3 separate regions of the Homo sapiens genome follow, and all the other regions are linked to region 2. The links are contacts of gene promoters, found by promoter capture Hi-C in human tissues and cell types (Jung and others, 2019). All regions are on one chromosome and are shown on one strand. Each heading gives the region's core, a stretch centred on a gene start or on the middle of the fragment in contact. The rest is flanking DNA. Distances are from core to core; before and after follow the strand shown.

What was found. The method cuts DNA at HindIII sites, captures the fragments that hold promoters and counts their contacts. A contact is called where the count stands out against the background at its distance.
Region 1: a fragment that was not itself captured here is called in contact with the fragment with the promoter of PXN in region 2 in 1 of the 25 tissues and cell types used here (liver).
Region 3: a contact is called between a fragment that was not itself captured here and the fragment with the promoter of PXN in region 2, in 3 of the 25 tissues and cell types used here (dorsolateral prefrontal cortex, hippocampus and pancreas).

The regions. Positions count from the first base shown.
Region 1 is chr12:120,454,643-120,458,017 of GRCh38, forward strand. GATC (glutamyl-tRNA amidotransferase subunit C) reads left to right here. Exons shown (of 4, transcript NM_176818.3): 3 at 2,434-2,537. Among named protein-coding and RNA genes, the nearest start is that of GATC, 9.9 kb to the left of the region's middle. The HindIII fragment of the contact is 8,224 bases long and covers 1-3,375 here.
Region 2 is chr12:120,264,254-120,267,367 of GRCh38, forward strand. It overlaps PXN (paxillin), which reads right to left and starts at 1,477. Exons shown (of 15, transcript NM_001385981.1): 1 at 1,364-1,477. The coding sequence starts at 1,376. RefSeq lists silencers at 1,195-1,344, 1,505-1,784. The HindIII fragment of the contact is 15,906 bases long and covers 1-3,114 here.
Region 3 is chr12:120,047,420-120,050,873 of GRCh38, forward strand. All of the region lies in intron 2 of BICDL1 (BICD family like cargo adaptor 1), which reads left to right. LOC124903114 (small nucleolar RNA U13) reads left to right here and starts at 1,011; the gene lies at 1,011-1,109. The HindIII fragment of the contact is 5,126 bases long and covers 1-3,454 here.

The DNA.
Region 1 (3,375 bases), core at 2-2,501, 190 kb after region 2:
CTGACCTCGTGATCTGCCCGCCTCAGTCTCCCAAAGTGCTGGGATCACAGGCATGAGGCACCGCGCCCGGCCTCTTAGCCATTTTTTAATACTGTCCAACAGAAACTATAAACTCCAGAAAGTCCAAGGGTTACCTTTGAATAGTATAATTATGATTTTTATTTTACTTTTGTTCTCCCAAGTTTTCTTAAATGAATACAGTCCTTGTGTTATTCAAAAAAAAAAAAAAATCTAGTACAACTCTCTTTTGTGTGTGTGTGTGTGAGACACTGTCTCACTCTGTCACCCAGGTTGGAGTGCAGTGGTGTGATCTCCGCTCACTACAAACTCTGCTTCCTACATTCAAGTGATTCTTGTGCCTCAGCCTCCCAGGTAGCTGGGATTACAGGTATGTACCACCATGCCCGGCTAACTTTTATATTTTTAGTAGAGACAGGGTTTCACCATATTGGATGGTCTCGAACTCCTGACCTCAGGTGATCCACCTGCTTTGGCCTCCCAAAGTGCTGGGATTACAGGCTTGAGCCACTGTGCCTGGCCTTTTTTTTTTTCTTCTTGCTCTGTCGCCCAGGCTTGAGTGCAGTGGTGCCATCTCAGCTCACTGCAACCTCCGCCTCCTGGGTTCAGGCGATTCTCCCGCCTCAGCCTCCCGAGTAGTTGGGATCACACGTGCGTGCCACCACGCTTGGCTAGTTTTTGTATTTTTAGTAGAGATGTGGTTTCCCCACGTTGCCCAGGCTGGTCTTGAACTCCTGAATTCAGGTGATCCACCCGCCTTAGCCTTCCAAAGTGCTGGGATTACATGCAAGAGCCACCACACCTGGCCTTTCTCCCCCACACCCCGCCGCCCCCCTCCAAGAAATTTAATGTCTGAAAAGATCATACTTGTTCAAGGCCACACAGTTAAGAATGTGCCAGGTCCTGTAACAGACTTCAACTTTCTAATATTCATACCATGAGTAAATATTTGTTGTGTCTAGCTTTGGGCTGGGTGCCACAAAAAAAGAACTAGTCCTTTCCTAAAATAATCTTATTGTGACAACTTAGTTCTCTTTTTTTTTGAGGCAGAGTATCGCTCTGTCGCCCAGGCTGGAGTGCAGTGGCGCGATCTCGGCTCACTGCAAGCTCCGCCTCCCGGGTTCACGCCATTCTCCTGCCTCAGCCTCCCAAGTAGCTGGGTCTACAGGCGCCCACCACCACGCCCGGCTAATTTTTTTGTATTTTTAGTAGAGATGGGGTTTCACCGTGTTAGCCAGGATGGTCTCGATCTCCTGACCTCGTGATCCGCCCACCTCGGCCTCCCAAAGTGCTGGGATTACAGGCGTGAGCCACCGCGCCCGGCTGACAACTTAGTTCTTATGTGCAGCCTTAGCCCAGATGTACCTGTCACATCTTTGTCCCTCTCTGACATGACTCAAACGCCATTAGGGTCTGCCCTCAGTCTGTGCCCACTCAAAGCAGGAGGAGCGTGGCTACTACCGAATACCATATCAGTGATTTAACAGACTGCTTATTTTTTTAATCTAAGTATCTGGAAGCAGGCTTACACACTTTTACACCTTGAAACAATAGTGAAGCCTCATGCAAATGTTCAAGCTCTTGTGTGTTTTTTACCGGTTTGCCATCTGAAGGCTTTAGTAAAGTCACTAGGTCCCACAGAACACTGGGAGATTCTTGAGCTGTTGGTGGCACATCTTGCTCAAGGGCAGGCACATCCACCAAAGTGGCTGTGGTGGAAAAAGCATTCATTTTAGGTGTATCAGATTGGGCTGAGATCCCAGTTGTTACTTAGCAGCCAACATCCTTAAGTTACTCTTGTGGCAAGTTTGCTTCCCCATCTCTGCTTAGCTTTCCAGCTTCATCTTCCACCCCGGCAGACCACACCCCAGCCTGCTAAACTCCCTGTCCTTCTCTGAATCTCTGAGCTCTCGGCTCTATTGCTTTGGGATTCATGCTGCTATACGTGCCAGGAAGTCCATTTCTCATACCTTCATCCCCCAATCCAGCTATTTCTTGCCCATCCTTGAACAGTGACATCAGCTATTCTGAGGATGTGCTACTCACGCAGGCTGGACTAGGTACCCTTTCTATCCTTTGGCAGGCTGTACTAACCTCTGTTAGATTTAAAATATTGTTTTTGTAATTGCTTTTACCTGTCCCCACCAAAAGACAGTTGCCCATATAATCATCAAAAACTATTTGTTAAATCAATCCAGAGAAGTAATTAGCACTTACTTCTCAGGGTTGTTCGGTCAATCTATAAACTGTAGGCTGTTATTTGGTCTACTGTTGATCCCAGCTTCTCTATCTTTGAACAGTGCCCATTAACTCAAGAATATACTGCTTCCTTGTTCTCTCCTTCTTGCCCCTCTCCATCATCCCCTAAAAGCCCCCTTCTCTGAGAGGGTAACCTTGAGCTTCTGGGTTTTGTAGATGTCTATACCTGAGATCCGACAATGTGGTAGAAGGCAACTGTGCTGATGAATTACTACAAAACTCCCATCGCGTCGTGGAGGAGTACTTTGTGGCCCCCCCAGGTACGTGCTGCCCAGAATGGTTTAACAGATAGTCTCACAGTAACCTTAGGAATGAAGCAGGAAGCATGAGGACCAAAGATGCTATGTGAAGGCACTTTGAAAAGGATGAAGTGCATACAGATGGTGGCATTAAGGTGGCAGTAGGGTCCAGGGTCATACTCACCTCTAGGGGGCAGTTAGTAACAGGAACAAGCAAAACAGGATTGGGGGCATGCGGGAGGTTTAAAGTAGGTGGAAATCTGGAGCTCAAGATCTCCCTAAAGGGGCAGCTGGCATTCAGTGTTTCTCAAAGCCACAGTTAAGACCCTGCCAGATCCTGTAATCGACTCCAACTTTCTAGTATTCATACCATGAATAAATATTTGTTAGGTCTAGCTTTGGGCTGGGTACCACAAAAAAACCAGTCCTTTCCTAAAAGAATCCTTTTTTTTTTTTTTTTTTTTTGAGACGGAGTTTCGCTCTTGTTGCCCAGGCTGGAGTGCAATGGTGCAATCTCGGCTCACCGCAACCTCCACCTCCCGGGTTCAAGCGATTCTCCTGCTCAGGCTCCCCAGTAGCTGGGATTACAGGCATGCACCAGCACGCCTGGCTAATTTTTTGTATTTTTAGTAGAGACAGGGTTTCACTGTGTTAGCCAGGATGGTCTCGATCTCCCGACCTCAGGTGATCCACCCACCTCGGCCTCCCAAAACGAATCTTATTGTGACAACTTAGTTATCATGTGTGGCCTTAGCCCAGATGTTTCTGTCACATCTTTGCCTATGACATGATTCAAACGCCATTAGGGTCTGCCCTCAGTCTGTGCCCATTCAAAGCAGGAGGAGCATGGCTGCTACCC
Region 2 (3,114 bases), core at 227-2,726:
TAGTGCCCGGCGCTGCTTGGTAGAGGTCCATCAGTCCTGTCTGCTGAATCTACTCCTCAGAGCCTGGGACAGAGGAAGCATCAGTGGTCACACAAGCCACCCACAGTCCAGAGAGGAAAGACAAGGCTCCTGCAGAGAAGAAACGTTGCCCCCCTCCTCACCTCCCAAGCTCAGGGCCCTCCAGCTACAGGCGTGAAGGGGAGGGAGAGACAGCGAATCCTCCCACTCCTGCGTTCACGCCACCCAAGGCATTCCTAGAACCCTGGCACCAACCCCCTTGGGTTTAGAGTCGGCTTCCAGGAGATACTTTCTTTCCCCTAACACCAGATCAAGACTGGACTGAAAAGAGTAGCCTTGGGGCTCCAATAACAGGAAAACAGTAAAACTCTGTTCTGGGCATCCTGTCCTCTTTCACCTGCGTGGCTTCCAGCAGGGCCTGACGCAGAGAGGGTGGAGGGGACTCTGCTAGCCAGGACACGTTCAGGGATGGTCATACCTTGGGGCCCACCTTCCACCTCATTCCCCTGGCATTTCACCAGAATCTAGGGGTGGGGAGAGAATCAGGACTCCCAAATTACCGTTCTAGACTTAGATACCATGGTAGACGGACTGGTCTGTGAATTGAGGGGCTGGTCCACAGAGCGGGGAGGTCAGTGAGAGAAAATGAGTGATGGGTCCTTGAAACGGGGTGACCAGATTTGAAGTGGGGGGTCAGAAGAGCAGGCAGACTGGGAAACTTGTCTTTGAAATGGGGGTGTGGTCATCACACGCTCATCTCTAGCTTTTGCATCTGACTTGTGAAATGAAAGGGGTGGGCTCCGAGGGGTTATCCCTGAAGGGGGGTGCTAGTCTGTGAAGTGGGGGGCGGCCCTGGAGGGACGGGGAGCAGGTCGAGGAAATGAGGGAGCAGCCCATGAGATCGGGCAGCTGCTCCCCGAGTTGGGCGGTCGATCTGTGAGGTGGGGGTGGGGAGAGGTCTGCGAGGTGAGGGTCCCGTAGCTGACGAGGTGGTCTGCCGCAGGAAGTCTCGTCCCTGCAGCGGACGGGGTGGGTCCCTGAGGGGCGGGCTGGTCCCTGGGGCCCTTCTGGGAGATGGTGATGGGTCCCCGAGGTCGGGGGTCCAGAGGTGAAGCCGTCCCAGACGGGGGGTCGCTGCTGTGCGGTCGGTGCCGGGGCCGGCCTGGCCCGAGACTAAGGCCCGGTTAGGGATCCCAGCCCCGCGGAGCCCCGGCCGGCAGGGACAGGAGCTGAGGCCGGGGCCGCCGAGGGTGGGATCCCGCGGCCCCTGCCGCTCGCTGGCGCCCTCCTGGCCCCAAGCTGCGCGCCTCTCGCCTCCTCCTCCCTCGGCCTCCCGCTCACTCACCGAGGTCGTCCATGGCCGGACCACGGGCGCCGGCTCAGGGTCGCGCTAGCTGCCCGTCCCGGGGCCGCTCGTCTATGCCCCGCAACTTTTCCGCCGCGAGCCTCGGCCCGGAACGGAACGCGCCGCCGCCGCGCGCGCCCGCGCCCGCGCCCGCCGCGCGCCCCGCCCCCGGCCGCCCCCTGTGCACGCGCGCCCCGCCCCCGGACACCCCCGCGAGCTTGCTGGCCCCGCCCCCTGCGCACGCTGGTCCCGCCCCCGCCAAGAGCCCGGGCAGTGGGCGTCGCTGGGCGGGGCGGTGGCGCCCCCTCGCGGCTAAGCGGGCAGGTGGGCGGCTCCCAGGCCTCCAGCCACTCCCATCCATCTTTCTGTCCCTCTCAAAGTCACTTGCCTGACCCTGCGGATGACAAATCCGTCCACAGTCAGCCATGTGTCTGTGCATTCGTCAGCCACTGGGTCATCACATGCCTGTCCACTGGACAGTCAGTTTTGCCCACCTGTCCGTCTGTCACCTGTAGGTCACCACCCAGGAGGACCATAAATCAGTACCAGGCAAGGCCCGGAGCCCGTGGCTGACCTTTCCTGGGGTCGTCCTCTGGATCAATGGCAGTGCAGCTCGCAGTTCACCCTTTCTGGCCCAAACCCAATACCTGTGTGGTTCCATCTCTCTTAATATTACTTCCACACAGCCACCCTCCCTAGACACTTTTCCAAAACTGCATGGGGCAGAGGGGTCCCCAGATTAGACATTAAAGGGAAAACTACAGGAAAGTCACACCCAGTGCTCCCACACACTCGGAAATTGGGTAATAATAACAACTACCATTTATTGAGTGTCTGAATAGACAGACACTATATAGCTATTCTCTAAATTAATCCTCCTAGAGGTACTTCCCTACCCGTTGGGATGGGTGATGGCAGTTTGTGGATTTTATATAAAACTGCTCTGCAAGTACAGCTTCGAGTTCCCCTTGTCCCTCAAGAATCCAGGCCTTCTGGGTCAGATCAGGTCCTCCAGAAAGCAGATGAGATGCTGAGATAAAGCTAGGGGTAATGCCCGTGACAGAGAAGGGGAAATAAGCAGGGTTGGGCAAGGAGACTCAGATCTGACAAACAGGTCAACCCATCAGGGAATTCCAGGACAAAAAAAATGAGAAGTCTCCTTGGGCAGAAGTATCCGGGTTCCAATGCTCCCACCATGTTCAGTCATTTTATAAAGGCAGATCCAAGCAGCTTCTGTGGCTGCCACATTCTCCTATAATAAATTCAAGACCAAAGACTGTTCCTCAAACACTCTATTGCGTGGTTTTCCAGCATCTTGCACATACCTCTATTTTGTTTTAGTTTTTGTGTTTTTGTTTTTGTTTGAGATGGAGTCCCAATCTGTCGCCCAGGTTGGAGTGCAGTGGTGCAATCTCAGCTCACTGCAACCTCCGCCTCCCAGGTTCAAGTGATTCTCCTGCCTCCTGCTGGGATTACAGGCGCATACCACCATGCCTGGCTAATTTTTGTATTTTTAGTAGAGATGGGGTTTCACCATGTTGGCCAGGCTGGTCTTGAACTCCTGATCTCAGGTGATCTCCTGCCTCCTGGTGGGATTACAGGCGTGTACTACCATGCCTGGCTAATTTTTGTATTTTTAGTAGAGACAGGGTTTCACCATGTTGGCCAGGCTGGTCTTGAACTCCTGACTTCAGGTGATCCGCCCCCCTCAGCCTCCCAAAGTGCTGGGATTACAGGTGTGAGCCACCACG
Region 3 (3,454 bases), core at 919-3,418, 220 kb before region 2:
TGTATCTTTACGGGCCTAACTTTGTTGACCCATGCCTCAATTTCATCACCTGCAAAATTAGGGTTTTGAACCAGATTATCTCTGAAGTTTCAACTCTCAAACTGCATGTTTTCCTTTGAGCTAAAGCCAATATTCTATTTGGAATTTTCACTTTATCATAAATAATTATAGCTATAGTGTATTACATATTTAACCTGTGCTAAACATTTCATATATATTATTGCATTTTAATGCTAGCATAACTTGAAAGGTAGTTTTTTTTTAATCACCATCTTTCAGATGAGGAAACTGAGGTAGAGAGTGGTTAGATAATTTTTGAAGGTCATACAGCTATGTACTTTGTTTATTCTTCCCTTAAGATAATTACTGTATTTTTGCCTTATTTGTGTACTTCTCAAGTCACCTGCCAGTTTATACAAATATTTATTCTGTGCTTTATATTGGCTGCTTCATAAGGGTTCATCTCATCTTCAGCTACTTAAGAATGAAGATTGTGTCTTATAGTTTATATCTCTCATAGGGACATGAAACTTTGTATATTTCCAAAATGGAAGGTCTTTTAAAAATAAAATAAAAAAAACAAGCAAATGACTCCTTTCCTCCCTCAATCTTTCTAAGCTTACACTTTCTGAAATTTGTTATGATTATTATATCACTCTCCCCAGCCTCATTATTACTGAAATTCCTGATCTTTGTTTGATGTTATCAACACAGTTTTTTTTCTTTCACCTTTCTCCCTAGATGTTGATGTCTTATGAATTTACCTTTTTTTTTTTAAGAGGGAGAGGTCTCACTGTGTCGCTCAGGCTGGAGTACAGAAGCTATTTGCAGGCACGATCATAGCTTGCTGTAGCCTTGAACTCTTAGGCTTTATTTCTCCTGATTGTTAAGATAATACAACCTCCATATTTGCAAACATCTGGATTCTGCTAAGCTTAAGTTTTGTTTTAGTTTCTTCTCCTTTAGCCTTTCACTGTCAAGTGCATTGCTGTTAAAATTACAGGTCCTTGATCTTTTTGTAGTTCATAAACATGATGATTGGGCTTTCACACTTGTTTGAGGTGTGTCTTCCTCAAACCTTATAGTGTCAGCACATTGCCTGTCTGATGTGGGAAAAAAAAATTACAGGTTCTTGTTTCCTGTGATTTGCTTTTCCATTTTTTCCCTATCTCATTTGGTTACCTATCCCTTACTCACTCTGTGACCAAGGCATCTCCTCTGGGCCTCAGTTTCCTCATCTGTGTAATGAAGGAGTTCACTTAACTGATTTTCTTTTATTTTGGCAAGGTCCAGCTCTGACATCCTTGAAATCTAAGATGGTACCAGATCTGCCTTCTCTGTTTCATCCCCAGTACCTAGGATAAATCTAGCCACACAGAAAGGCTTATTAAACTTTTGTTGACATTTTTTTTTAATTTGGGGTCTGTGTGTCTACTCTAGTTTCTTGGAGATTTTTTTCTTATTTTCATTCTGTAGTTACCTACTGTACCTTTAAACTTTTATTTCTCAAGGACAGTTTGTTTCAGCCTTGAAAGATCCTTCATTCAGTTCAGTTCAGGCATTTCTTGGCCAGGTACTGGACTAGCTACTGGGAATGCAAAAATGAATTAGATGCTGTCACTGTCCTTAAAAAGCTTCAAATGAGGTGAAGGACTCATAAGAAGATAACTCATAAAATGTAATATGTCCTCTGCTAGAGTTTGTGCCTGGGGTGCTCTGAGAACGCAAAGGAGGGTCCCTCTGGAATGCCAAGGAGCACAGAAAGCTTCTGGGAAGAGATGATGCTATAGCTAAGTCTAGAAAGACAGAGTTAGTCCTGTGAAAAATAGGGAAGAAGCATGCCTAGGGAAAGAACAAGGATAAAGGGGACAGAGTTACAGGAGATAGAAGGTTGGCAGGTGACTGGCCTTGGAAGGCTTTTTGTGCCTGTTTGTAATAGGGAAGTACTAAAAGATTTCAGCAAGAAAATGTCTTTTCATATTACATTTTTATATGTGTCTTTTTATTTTAAAGAGATCTGCTAACATGGGCCGTATTTGTGGTCGTTAGGGGAACCAAGTGTTTTCTCTGGAAAGGTTGTCTTTTATCTTCTTTTTCAGATTATCTTAGTCTGGCGCTCTGCAGTTTCTTTATGATATATCTAGGTGTGGATTTCGTTTTATTTCTTCTGCTTTGTTTTCATTGGGCATCTTGAGTTTGTGAATTGGTGTCTTTCATTGTTAGGAGATTATCAGCCATTATCTCATCAAGTATTGCCTCGGTCCCATTCACTCTGTCCTTTCTGGAACTGCAGTTTAAACATATGGGGACTATACTAACGTAGTGCTTCTATTTTCCATCTTTATCTCTGTATTGTAGTGTAGATAATTCCTTCTGACTAGTCTTCCAATTTGGTAATTTTCTCTTCAGTTGTCACATGTGTTCTTAAACTCTGTCCATTAGGTTAAGAAGAAACTGGAAAGCTTTTTATTCCTCCAAAGTAGGTTATGCCATTTTACACTCCCACCAACAGTGTGTGGGAATTCCAGTTGTTGACATTCCCAGTATTTTGTGTTGTTGTTCCTTTTAATTGTAGCCTTCTTATGAGTATGTAGTGGTATCTCATTGTGGTTTTAATTTACATTTCCCTGGTCACTAATGATGGGGAGCACTTCTTCATGTGCCTATTGGCCATTCATTTATTTTTGTCTTTGAAGTATCTGTTCGAATGTTTTGCTCATTTAAAAAATTACGCGTCTTTTTATTGAGTTAGAGGTTTTTATATATTCTGAATACAAGTCAGATATATGTGTTATAAACATTTTCTCCCAGTCTGAGCTTTATAGATCTATTCTCTTTTTTTTTTTTCTTTTTTTTTCTTTTTTTGAGATGGAGTCTCACTCTGTCGCCCAGGCTGGAGTGCAGTGGCGTGATCTCGGCTCACTGCAAGCTACACCTCCTGGGTTCACGCCATTCTCCTGCCTCAGCCTCCCAAGTAGTTGGGACTACAGGTGCCCGCCACCACGCCCAGCTAATTTTTTTGTGTTTTTAGTAGAGACAGGGTTTCACCGTGTTAGCCAGGATGGTCTCGATCTCCTGACCTCGTGATCCACCTGCCTCAGCCTCCCAAAGTGCTGGGATTACAGGCGTGAGCCACCACGCCTGGCCTAGATCTGTTTTCTTAATGATGTCTTCTAATGCTTAGAAGTCTTTAATTTTGATACTACCCATTGGGTTTTGTGACATTTTTTGTTTTTGCTTGAGACAGAGTCTTACTCTGTTGCCCAGGCTGGAATGCAGTGGCACGATCTTGGCTCACTGCAACCTCTGCCTCCCAGGTTCAAGCAATTCTCATGCCTCAGCCTCCCAAGTAGCTGGGATTAACAGTTGTGTGCCACGCACAGCTAATTTTTATTAGAGACAGAATTCTTCAGTGTTGCCTTGGCTAGTCTTGAACTCCTGGCCTCAAGTGATC